Regions from separate parts of the Homo sapiens genome. Here region 2 is linked to region 1. Evidence: promoter capture Hi-C in human tissues and cell types (Jung and others, 2019). All regions are on one chromosome and are shown on one strand. Each heading gives the region's core, a stretch centred on a gene start or on the middle of the fragment in contact. The rest is flanking DNA. Distances are from core to core; before and after follow the strand shown. Region 1 holds the start of SEL1L2 (SEL1L2 adaptor subunit of SYVN1 ubiquitin ligase). Region 2 overlaps MACROD2 (mono-ADP ribosylhydrolase 2).

Region 1 (5,552 bases), core at 1,862-4,361:
GATATTGACTTCTTATGTAGAAATGTGAAAGGTAAGACAAGTACATCATACTAGACACCTTCCCTTCAACAGAGAAGCTGTTTGCACTCCAGCCTCCAGCCAGTCCTTCCACATGTGCTTTCTTAGGAACATTACACTATTGATTATCTTTTCTTTCATGTCAGCTCAAAGAACTGGAACTTTTATTGTGTGAAAGCACATTAAAAGTATGTAGAGGGCATTTGTTCCAGCATTTAGTATTAATCACTCTGACAAAATACCATTATCATTCAAAACTGTTAAATATTTAACATCCCTAAAGTACTTGAAATGTGCCGTGTACCAAACTGAACTCATGCTCCTTCTCCCAGTTTTCCCCATCTCTTCGAATGGCTCCATTACCCGTTTAGTTGAAAAATCTGGAAACCTAAGCACCATCCCTGGTACCTCTTATAACTTCACTCTCATATCAAATCGGTTGCTATACCTACGCAATTTTATTGAGCGGTCTGTATAAGTCTGGAATCACTACTTTCCAACAGCATTGCAGTAAACTTAGTCTGAATTTAGCTGGACTATTGCAAAGACTTCCTAAGTGGCCTTCATGCCCACTGTTGCCCCTCTTCTGTCCATTGTCTAGACTGCATCTAGTGATACCTTGTCAGAAGTGATCACGTCTTCTCACTTCTGTAAGTCATTCAATGACTTTCTGGTGGTCTTTACTATGGACTGACTTACGTGCACCCAAAATTCATATGTTGAAGCCCTAATCTCCAATGTGACTAAATGTGGAGATTAGGTCTTTACGAAGTAATTAAGTTTAAATGAGGTCATAAGGGTGAGTGAGGTTAATAGGACTGAGGCCTTATAAGAAGAGGGAGATCTCTTTCATCCTCTCCTCCCACCCCCTTTCCCTGCTATATGAGGACACAGCAAGAAGGTAGCCATCTTGCAAGCAGGAAGAAGACCCTCACCAGAACCTGGTCTCAGATTTCTAGCCATCAGAACTGAGAAAATTAATTTCTGCTGTGTAAAGTCACCCAGTCTATATTATTTTGTTGCATACAGGCTAATACAGTCTTTTTATAACAATTAAATTATTAAGAATGGAGTGACTATCACCTACTAACCCAGCCTTATTTTATACTATGCTCCATACCACCCCCATTCCCCAGTCTCTGATTCCAGCCCACAGAGCATCATTTCATGTTCTGGAACACCATATAGCCTTTTTCTTTTTTGAGACGGAGTTTCACCCTTGTTGCCCAGGCTGGAATGCAATGGCGCGATCTTGGCTCACTGCAACCTCTGCCTCCCAGGTTCAAGCAATTCTCCTGCCTCAGCCTCCCGAGTAGCTGAGATGACAGGCATCTACCACCATGCCCGGCTAATTTTTGTATTTTTAGTAGAGACGGGATTTCACCATGTTGGCCAGGCTGGTCTTGAACTCCTGACCTCAGATGACCCACCTGCCTCAGCCTCCCAAAGTACTGGGATTACAGGCATGAACCACGGCACCCAGCCCACATAGCCTCTTAACATGTTCATTGCAACACCTGGGACATGATTTGTTTAGCTGACTCACTCTCGTTCTTCATATTTCAGCTTGAACATCACTCCCTAGCAAAGCCTTCCCTGACTCTGACCCTACCTGACCTTTGTTTGCCGCTTCCCCTTATATGCCTTCATTGCTCATTGATTTTCCTATAAAGAAGTTTGGGTTTGTTGTTGTTGTTTTGAGATGGAGTCTCACTCTGTCGCTCAGGCTGCATTGCAGTGGCACAATCTCTGCTCACTGCAACCTCCACCCCTCAGGCCCCTGGCCCCAGGATTCAAGCACTTCTCATGCCTCAGCCTCCTGAGTACCTGAAACTACAGGCGCATACCACCACGTCCAGCTAATTTTTGTATTTTTAGTAGACACGGGGTTTCGCCATGGTGGTCAGCCTGGTCTCGAACTCCTGGCCTCAAGTAATCCAACTGCCTTAGGCTCCCAAAGTGCTGGGATTACAAGTGTGAGCTGCCACGCCCAGCCAACATTAAGGATCTTGAGAGAGAGAGAGATTGTTCTGGATCATGTTGGTGGGCCCTAAATGTAATCACAAGTATCTTTATAAGAGGGGCACAAAGGGAGATTAAACTACAGAAGGCAAGTGATGACTGAGCAGAGACTGAAATGATGTGGTCACAAATCAAGGAATGCTGGCAGCCACTTAGAAGCTGAAAAATTCCAGGCCAAGAATGGATTCTTCCCTGGAGCCTCCAGGAGGAGCTAGCCTTGTCTTTGATTTTAGCCCTGTAAGAATGGTTTTGGAATTCTGGTCTCTAGAACTATGAGAGAATAAATTCCTGTTGTTTTAACCCATTACGTTTGTGGTAATTTGTTATCACAGCAATGGGAAACTAATAAAAGGAATAAAACTGTAAATTCAAAACAATAAAATGTCTATTTCTAAAGTAATGACCTGGACAGACTGTAAAAGTTGGATATTTTTTGTAGGCATAATTTCTCAACTAGCTCTGTGCCTTGGATATTTTTAATATTTATATGTTTTCCCTAAATATTCATTTTGATTTCTCGTAGCTTTGAAGGTACCACTTGTGAGATGTCTGTATTATCTGAGGTATGTAAAGACATTGTTAAACAGTCTTTGTTTGCCTTTGTTCCAGTAAATCCTCAGCAGTTTCTAACTGGAAAAGAGGATAAAGATTTTCATCCAGATTGGGAACAAAGCAGACTTGGCCCATTGTTTCTTTTCCGCCATAGCCTAGAGATACCAGCTTACAGGATGATGTCAGATCAGTTCATGTACCTTAATTGTGTTTTTACATAAGTGTAGTTTGTACCTCTAGAGGCAACATAAAAATAAGAACTTCCAGCACCCCTGAACACAGTTGAACGTGTGGACACGTACGAGTCGGACTTCTGGTCCCTTCCTTTCATGTTAGAGAGCCACCCCTAATTTCTAGCCTACCCCTTATCTTCAGCCAGAGGAATAGCAGTGGATCCTTTCCACAGCCTACATTCTCCAGCAGCTGCCTTCATTCCGGCTTGAAAGGAACACTCTGGCAGCCCATTGGCCCAAGAGTAAGGAAATGGTTGCTTAGCAACTGACTCCTGCCCCCACCACAGTCCCTGAGAAGAGGAGCTCTTGGGCCAATCACCTAGTTTCTGCCTGTGTTACAGTGAAGAGAAGCTGCTTAAGAGAAGATGAAGCCCTTGTCTCTGTTAATAGAGATATTGATAATTCTTGGGGTCACAATTAAAAGTAAGTTTTTTTGTCCTTAGAGTTCTCTATGAGGGTCTCTTCTCTTTGCTCAAACAGCGCCAAGGGCAGAAGCCAATTAAAAGACTAGAAGTAACTTTACTATATCCCTAACTAATGCCATTTTTGTACAGGTACTTTAAAATGTCCAATAAGAATAATAGATGATAATGATAGTCTCACTTGGGATAATACTTGGGAAGGGTGTGTACTTGGGAAGGGTGTGGGGGATGGGGAAAAAACAAATCTATGAGGAAACCACTACAGTAATTGTTATAAAGTAGGGATATTTAGGGCAAGTTGTTAAGTGTTATTAAATTTAGAATATCATAAAGGTCTAGTTCCAAGACTTTAAAGGAAAAATATAAGACTCAAAGAGTGTGAAAGATGTATAAACATGCTTTTTTAAAATATTTACACAATAACAATTTCACTTCCAAAGTTTCAATGTTTCCTAAATAGTTACTATCTGAAAATGGAAGTTATTTTCCATCTTGTTTCTTTGGCCATTTTTTTAGTTACTTTTTACCCAATCCTCATATAATGTGCTCATGATAAATTCAATTTAAGAAATATGTATTTGGTCCCTGCTTGTCTAGTGGTTAGAATTCAGCACTCTCACTGCCACAGCCCAGGTTCAATTCCCTGTCAGAGAAAAGGAAAAAAAAAGAAATATTTGGATTTTACCCAGAAATGTAAGATTGGTTTACCACCCATAAATCAATGTAACAATCACATCAACAGAATAAAAGACAAAGATCACATGATCATTCTAATCTAGTAAAAGCATTTGACAAAATTCAACAGGCTTTGTGATAAAAATGTGTGACAAACTAAGAATGGAAGGAAACTTTATCAACCTGATAGAAGATATTGAAAACCCAAAGCTACTATATTTAATGGTGAAAGACTGACTGCTTCATCCCTAACATCAGGAATAAGACAAGGATGTCCACTTTTGCCATTTCTGTTCAACATTGTACTGGAAGTTCTAGCTATGGCAATTACACAAGAAACAAAAGTAGAAGATATCAAGCTTGGAAAGAAAGAAGTAAAATGATCTGTATTCACAGAAGACATGATCTTGTATACAGAAAATCGTATGGAATCAACTACGAAACTATTAGAACTAATAAATGAGCTCCATAACAAATGCAGGATAAATACAAAAAAAAAGTTCTATTTCTATACAGTAGCAGTGAGCAAACCAAAAATGAAATTATGAAAGAAACTTTATAATAGTATCAAAAATGAACTACTTAAGAATAAATTTTACAAAAAAAGTGTGAAACTCATATTCTGATGACCACAAAAATTGTTTAAAGAAGTTAAAGAAGACTTCACTACATGAAAAGACTTCCCATGTTCATGAATTGGAGAACTTAATATTGGTAAGATGGCAATACTCTCCAAATTGATCTACATATTCAACACAATCTTTATTTATTTGTTTATTTATTTATTTTGAGATGGAGTTTCGCTCTTGTTGCCCAGGCTGGAGTGCAATGACGTGATCTCGGCTCACTGCAACCTCCGCTGCCTGGGTTCAAGCCGTTCTCCTGCCTCAGCCTCCCAAGTAACTGAATTACAGTCGTCTGCCACCACGCCTGGCTAATTTTTTGTATTTTTAGTAGAGACGGGGTTTTATCATGTTGGCCAGGCTGGTCTTTAACTCCTGACCTCAGGTGATTCACCCGCCTAAGCCTGCCAAAGTGCTGGGATTACAGGAATGAATCACACCGCATCTGGGCTTCAACACAATCTTTATCAAAATCCCAGCTGACTTCTTTTCAAAAATTGGCAAACTGGTCTTAAAATTCATATGGAAAAAAATGTTCCTGAAAAAGAAGAATGGAGTTGGAGGACTCACACTTCCCAATTTCAAAACTTACTACAAAGCTACAGTAATCAAGACAGTATGGTCCTGATGTGAAGATAGACATATAGGTTACTGGAATGGAATTGAGAGTTTTACAAGTAAACTATCACACTTATCATCAACTGATTTTTGGCAAAGATGCCATGAAAACTCAGTGTGGGAGGTGCAGGAGGAGATAATCTCTCCAACAAATGGTGCTGGGACAACTGGATAACCACATGAAAAAAATGAATTTGAAAAAAATAAATAAAACAGTTTTTAAAGGCTAGGCACAATGGTTCGTATCTGTAATCCCAGCGCTTTGGGAGGCCTAGGCAGAAGGATCACTTAAGGCCAGGACTTTAAGACCAGCCTGGTCAACATAGCGAGAACCTACCTCATCTCTTTAAAATTAAACCAAAAATAAATAAAAATTCATAAGAATGAAT
Region 2 (5,738 bases), core at 3,186-5,685, 46 kb before region 1:
CATTTACTATCACATATCCAGAATTTCCTGTTTATCAAGCAAAAAGAAAAATCAAAAAACTCTCCAACAATTTAATTCATACTTCTGGTTCATCTCCTACTTAAAGCACAAGAAACTTCAAGATACAAATTCCTCTATCATGCACAATTTGTTTTAAATATTCTCTTTTATAAAAGTAATTAGCTACATTATAAAAATTTGCAATCTACATAGTTTTACAGATGAGGTAAATTAAAAATGTTTGGATGAGAAACAAATTTAGTGACAAATCAGGAAACTCAGACTATGAATCTGAAACCTGAGAACTATGCGAATTCTACCAACTATTTTTCTTCTTCACTCAAGTCTAAATGGCACTCAAACCAAAAGAACAAAGTATACTCCTTCTAACTTAACTTTCTACTAAAAGAAAATGTTTTATACTTATCTCTGCTATTAGATGGCAAATTCCACAAAGAAAATAAACTCCAGAATAGCATGCCCACTACAATCATGTGCCACACAACATTTCAATTAATAACAGGCCATATATGCAACAGTGGTTCCATAATGTCATAACGAAGCTGAAAAATTCCTACTGCCTAATGATGCTGTAGCTGTCATAATGTCATAGCACAATCACTTAACTTTTTTACAACTTTAGTGTAGCCTAAGTGCAGTGGTTATAAAGTCATATAGTAATGTCCCAGGACTTCACATTCACTCACCACTCACTCACTTAGAGCAACTTTCAGTCCTGCAAGCTAACTGCCCTAAACAAGTATACCATATTTGGGTGGGATGGGGGTGAGGGATAAAAGATTATACATTGGGTACAGTGTACACTGCTCAGGTAATGGGTACACCAAAAACTCAGAAATCACTACTAAAGAACTTATTCATGTAACCAAACAATACCTCTTCCCCAAAAACTTATTGAAATATAATTTTTAAAAGAACAGATTAAGCTAAAAAAATTATACCTTTTTTCTTTTACACTCTATTTTTACTGTACTTTTTCTATGTTTAGATACACAAATACTATTGTGTTACAACTGCTTACAGTATTCAGTACAGTAACATGCTGTATACTTTCGTAGCCTGGGACTAATAGGCTATGCTATATATAACCATATAGCCTAGGTGTGTGATAGGTAGCTATACCATCTCAGTTTGTGGTAAATACACACTATCATGTTCACACAATGACTAAATCACCTAACTACACATTTCTCAGAATATATCCCTGTTGTTGGCAACACACGACTGTACTTAATTTGCTATCCCCACAATTACCCTATTGAAAGGTTCCCCAGATACTCTCCTAAAGGCCTACCTTCTTTCTGAAGTCACTGAAATACAAAAGCATTGTGCCACAATTTCCATCTGGATACTCTAAAGAAGACATTTATGTCACTCTACAATGTTCACATAGATTAGCGACATCACTGAGTTAAATTCAAAAATAAAATATCCATTTCTTTGAGCTGGGTAAATGCGTAGTCTTCAATCAAATTATTCCTGTTTTAATGGTCATACTTAATAAAAAAAAAAAAACAGATGGCAAATTCAAGCCCTAAGCTCAGTATTTAGAATGAAACAAAAGACAATTATATCAATATCACTTATATATGCCAACCTAAAAAACACACTGGCTATACAGGTTCCCCAATTTACAACCTTTTAATGTTTTTACCAGGATGTTTTATAGTTAAAAAACTAAGTATCTATCACCGGTTTTCCCTGCTTTATTTATATGCAGGCCTGAACATTATGAATATAATGAACATTTGTAAACTGAAGAAGCAAGCTATTTAAAGGAATATCACAATCAATCCTTTTGTAAATTAACAGCCCCAAATAAATCCTAATTTTACTAAGGATTTATTTAAAAGTGGGGTTTGTTAAGATTAAAGAAAAAAATAAAACATAAGATTTAAAACAAGACGTGCCTTTGGTAACATCATTCTTTTCAGTACCCCAGGAAAGTTTTGTTTTTGTTTACCATTTTGGTATGGCAGGTTCACCAATTTCACAACTTTCCAAGATACCAATTTACTTCAAATATAATCAAGTACTCCTAAAAGTTTTCCATGGAATGAATTAATACAACCTTCATGGTCTCTAGGATGGTCAACCATAATTTATGTGAAATTCTTTGCTTCTTAAAAATCATTTAGTTTCAACATAAAAAATTTTTAAAAGCTGAAAATTTAAAGTACTTAATATTTCCACCCTCACCAATCTTTAGAACTAGAAATGGTACTTTAAAAGAGTAATACTTTTATGTGTAGCTTCACAAACACCCTGGTAAAAACACATACATATGTTAATACTCCAGTTTGAGAAGCAAGTTCATAGAGCATGCTGATAAAATTTGTAAAATATAGTTTATCTTCAATATGGCCCATCCTACCAACTTAAAAAAATGGTGACTGGTTAAAAAATCTAAGGAAGCAAATTTGTTTTAACGTTCAACAGATCTTAAGTGCAAATATGGAAACAAGCAGAATTACAAGAAAATGTGAATGAATGAATGGCTACTTTTTTTTAATGGTATAAATTTATATTCATTACACATATACTTGCTGAGACAACGTTCAGTGATTATTAGCAAAGTTATTATATACAACAACTTTACCTTTTCTAATACTTGTTTGTTAAATTAAAAACATCATGGCATTATGAATTATAAACCACAAAAACGACATAATGCACAGCATAAAATACCACATCTTTCCAAAAATCAAATATAATTAGTAGTAAAGACATAACGCATAAACACACCAGCAATGCTTTCAGGAAACAAAAGGCAGCATTAACAAAGGTGAAGAGGATAGAAGGTCTGGGTTCAAATCCCAACTTTGCCACTCAACAGCAGTATGACGTTGGGCAAGTTCTCTAACTTCTCTGTGCCTCAGTTTCCTGATTTGTAAAAAGAAATAATAATTGTACTTACTTCATGGAGTTATTGTAGTCATTAAATAAGTCAATATTTGTAAAACACAACTATACCTGGCACACAAGTGCTTTATGTGTCTAATACACAGAATCTTTTTTTTTTTTTGAGACGGAGTCTCTCACTCTGTGGCCCAGGCTGGAGTGCAGTGGCACGATCTCGGCTCACTGCAACCTCTGCCTCCTGGGTTCAAGCAATTCTCCTGCCTCAGCCTCCTGAGTAGCTGGGACTACTAGCACCCACCACCACACCCAGATAATTTTTGTATTTTTAGTAGAGACGGGGTTTCACCATATTGGCCAGGCTGGTCTCAAACTCCTGACGTGAAGTGATCCACTGCCTCGGCCTCCCAAAGTGCTGGGATAATAGGCGTGAGCCACTGCGCCTGGTTTTTGTTTGTTTGTTTTTTAATTGAGACAGTTATCTCGCCCCCGTACCCTCACAAGCTCACTGCTGCCTCCCGCTTCTGGCCTCAATCCGCCCACCTCAACCTCCTGAGTAGCCGAGGCTACAGGCTCGCACCACCATGCTGGGCTAATTTTCTTGGGGTTTTTTTTTGTAGAGACCACATTGCACAGGCTGGTGTGGAAATTCTGGGCTCAAACCATCCACCCGCCTCAGCCTCCTCCCAAGGTGCTGGAGTAACAGGCATGAGCCACTGCACCCAGCAAGGAACAATGTCTTAATTCCAAGGGAATGTTTCCCTTTATCACCAACCTTCATCAATCCTTAGCTCCATGGTTACTAACTACCCCCCCCACCAACACACACACAGTTGGCGTGTTCACATAGATTAGCGACATCACTGAGTTAAATTCAAAAATAAAATATCCATTCCTTTGAGCTGGGTAAATGCATAGTCTTCAATCAAAAAATATGCATCCCTTACTAAGATTACCAAATAAATATTTTCACGTCCACCAATACAAAATATTGGTATCTGTTTATAACTGCATGAAAGAAGCCTTTACTAATTACTGAATAGGACATTGGTATTCATTTATAATTGCATGAAAGAAGGCTTTATTAATTACTGAATAGGACACTGTAAAAATATTTCTATAATTGTAGAATTTTTATAGAAACCTATAATGCATTAAATTCCCATTATTACATGTATTTTGGCCAAATTAATGATGCCAAAACTAGTAAATTCTACAAAATTGCAATCATGTTTTCATCATTTATGATTTGTCCATATTTTGGAAGAGTGTGTAACAATACAAAGAAGGCTCTTATACATCTCAAGGCTACCTTTCAATATAACCAGGTATATAATACCCTTTAAAATAAAAGTTACATTTTGGTCATTAAAAAACCATGTTATGCCACATCTGACACGCTTCATTATTTCAAGCTCCACCTAAGCTATGACAAGGTCCCAAGGAGGAAAAACAGAGACCAGTTTAAAAACGTTTTATTTTTAAACTACATTTAAAATTGTAACTTTACCACAAAACGCTGGATTAGTAAATTAAAAACTAATTCCATAATTACTGCAAGTAATCAATGCTGAATAATCAACATGGTCTGGGAAACATGGCAAAACCCCGTCTCTACAAAAAACACAAAAGTGGCTAGGCGTGGTGGTGCACACCAGTGGTCCCAGCTACTCGGGAGGCTGAGGTGGGAGAATCGCTTGAGCCTGGGAGGCAGAGGTGGCAGTGAGCCAAGATTGCGGCAGGGCACTCTAGCCTGGATGACAGAGCAGGGAAAAATAAGGTAATCAATAGATATTTACTAAGTGGATACCAACAACCCACGACTGTGCTAAATATACAGATTCCTCTTAAATGAAAAGCTGAAGTCTGAAGTAAAAGGCAAAGTTACCTTTGTATAAGGCATGAAGATTACAGTGAAACTTCCTCCCACCCAAAATTGATTTTCTATGAGATGAATATAACATCTCTCTTCAGAAAATTTTCTTTGTATTTATTAAGAGAAACCACCGGAAAACACCCTGAGGTGCTTGTTAACAGTGCAGACTCCTGGGTCCTAATTAATACCTACTGAACCAGAATATGCAGGAATCTATGTTTCATAAACACTGAAGTTCAAGTACACTAAGCAAAAATGTACTGAGAACCCAACAGATTCCAGGCATTGTGCTAGGAATGGGAGACTACTAAAATGTTAGTTTCAGTAAATCTCACTTGGGAAGACAAGTAAAGGCTACTTAACCTCATATACAATTCAAAAAGGCAGAAATCGTGTCTTATTCATTATTGAATAACTGCTGTCTGCTAGCTTTTTTTTTTTTTTGAGACGGAGTCTCGCTCTGTCACCCAGGCTGGAGTGCAGTGGCGCCATCTAGGCTCACTGCAAGCTCCACCTCCTGGATTCACGCCATTCTCCTGCCTCAGCCTCCAGACTAGCTGGGACTACAGGCACCCGCCACCACGCCTGGCTAATTTTTTGTATTTTTAGTAGAGACGGGGTTTCACCATGTTAGCCAGGATGGTCTCAATCTCCTGACCTCGTGATCCGCCCGCCTTGGCCTCCCAAAGTGTTGGGATTACAGGCGTCAGCCACCGCGCCCAGCCGCTGTCTATCTTAATGGTATATTTCAAACATGGGCTGGTGATGAACAATTTTGTTTATCTATACTACTTTACCCCTCCATTTCTCTGAATAATTTTGGGAACCGACAGGAAAGAAATGTAAAGGTTTGAATAGGCTTTACTCATATTATGCTGATGAACCATATACGTTATTATTCAGATCAGCCATTCTGAAAAATTCAGAACAAAAAATTTTCCACGAACTCAGAAGTCATGCCCCAGTGTAAAATATCCGTAAG

Evidence for each region. The method cuts DNA at HindIII sites, captures the fragments that hold promoters and counts their contacts. A contact is called where the count stands out against the background at its distance.
Region 2: a fragment that was not itself captured here is called in contact with the fragment with the promoter of SEL1L2 in region 1 in 1 of the 25 tissues and cell types used here (mesendoderm cells).

Annotation. Positions count from the first base shown.
Region 1 is chr20:13,988,173-13,993,724 of GRCh38, reverse strand. It overlaps SEL1L2 (SEL1L2 adaptor subunit of SYVN1 ubiquitin ligase), which reads left to right and starts at 3,111. Exons shown (of 20, transcript NM_025229.2): 1 at 3,111-3,248. The coding sequence starts at 3,191. It also overlaps the pseudogene TRE-CTC10-1. The HindIII fragment of the contact is 28,140 bases long and covers 1-5,552 here.
Region 2 is chr20:14,035,604-14,041,341 of GRCh38, reverse strand. The region is part of intron 2 of MACROD2 (mono-ADP ribosylhydrolase 2); the gene reads right to left. Among named protein-coding and RNA genes, the nearest start is that of MACROD2, 43 kb to the right of the region's middle. The HindIII fragment of the contact is 5,742 bases long and covers 1,565-5,738 here.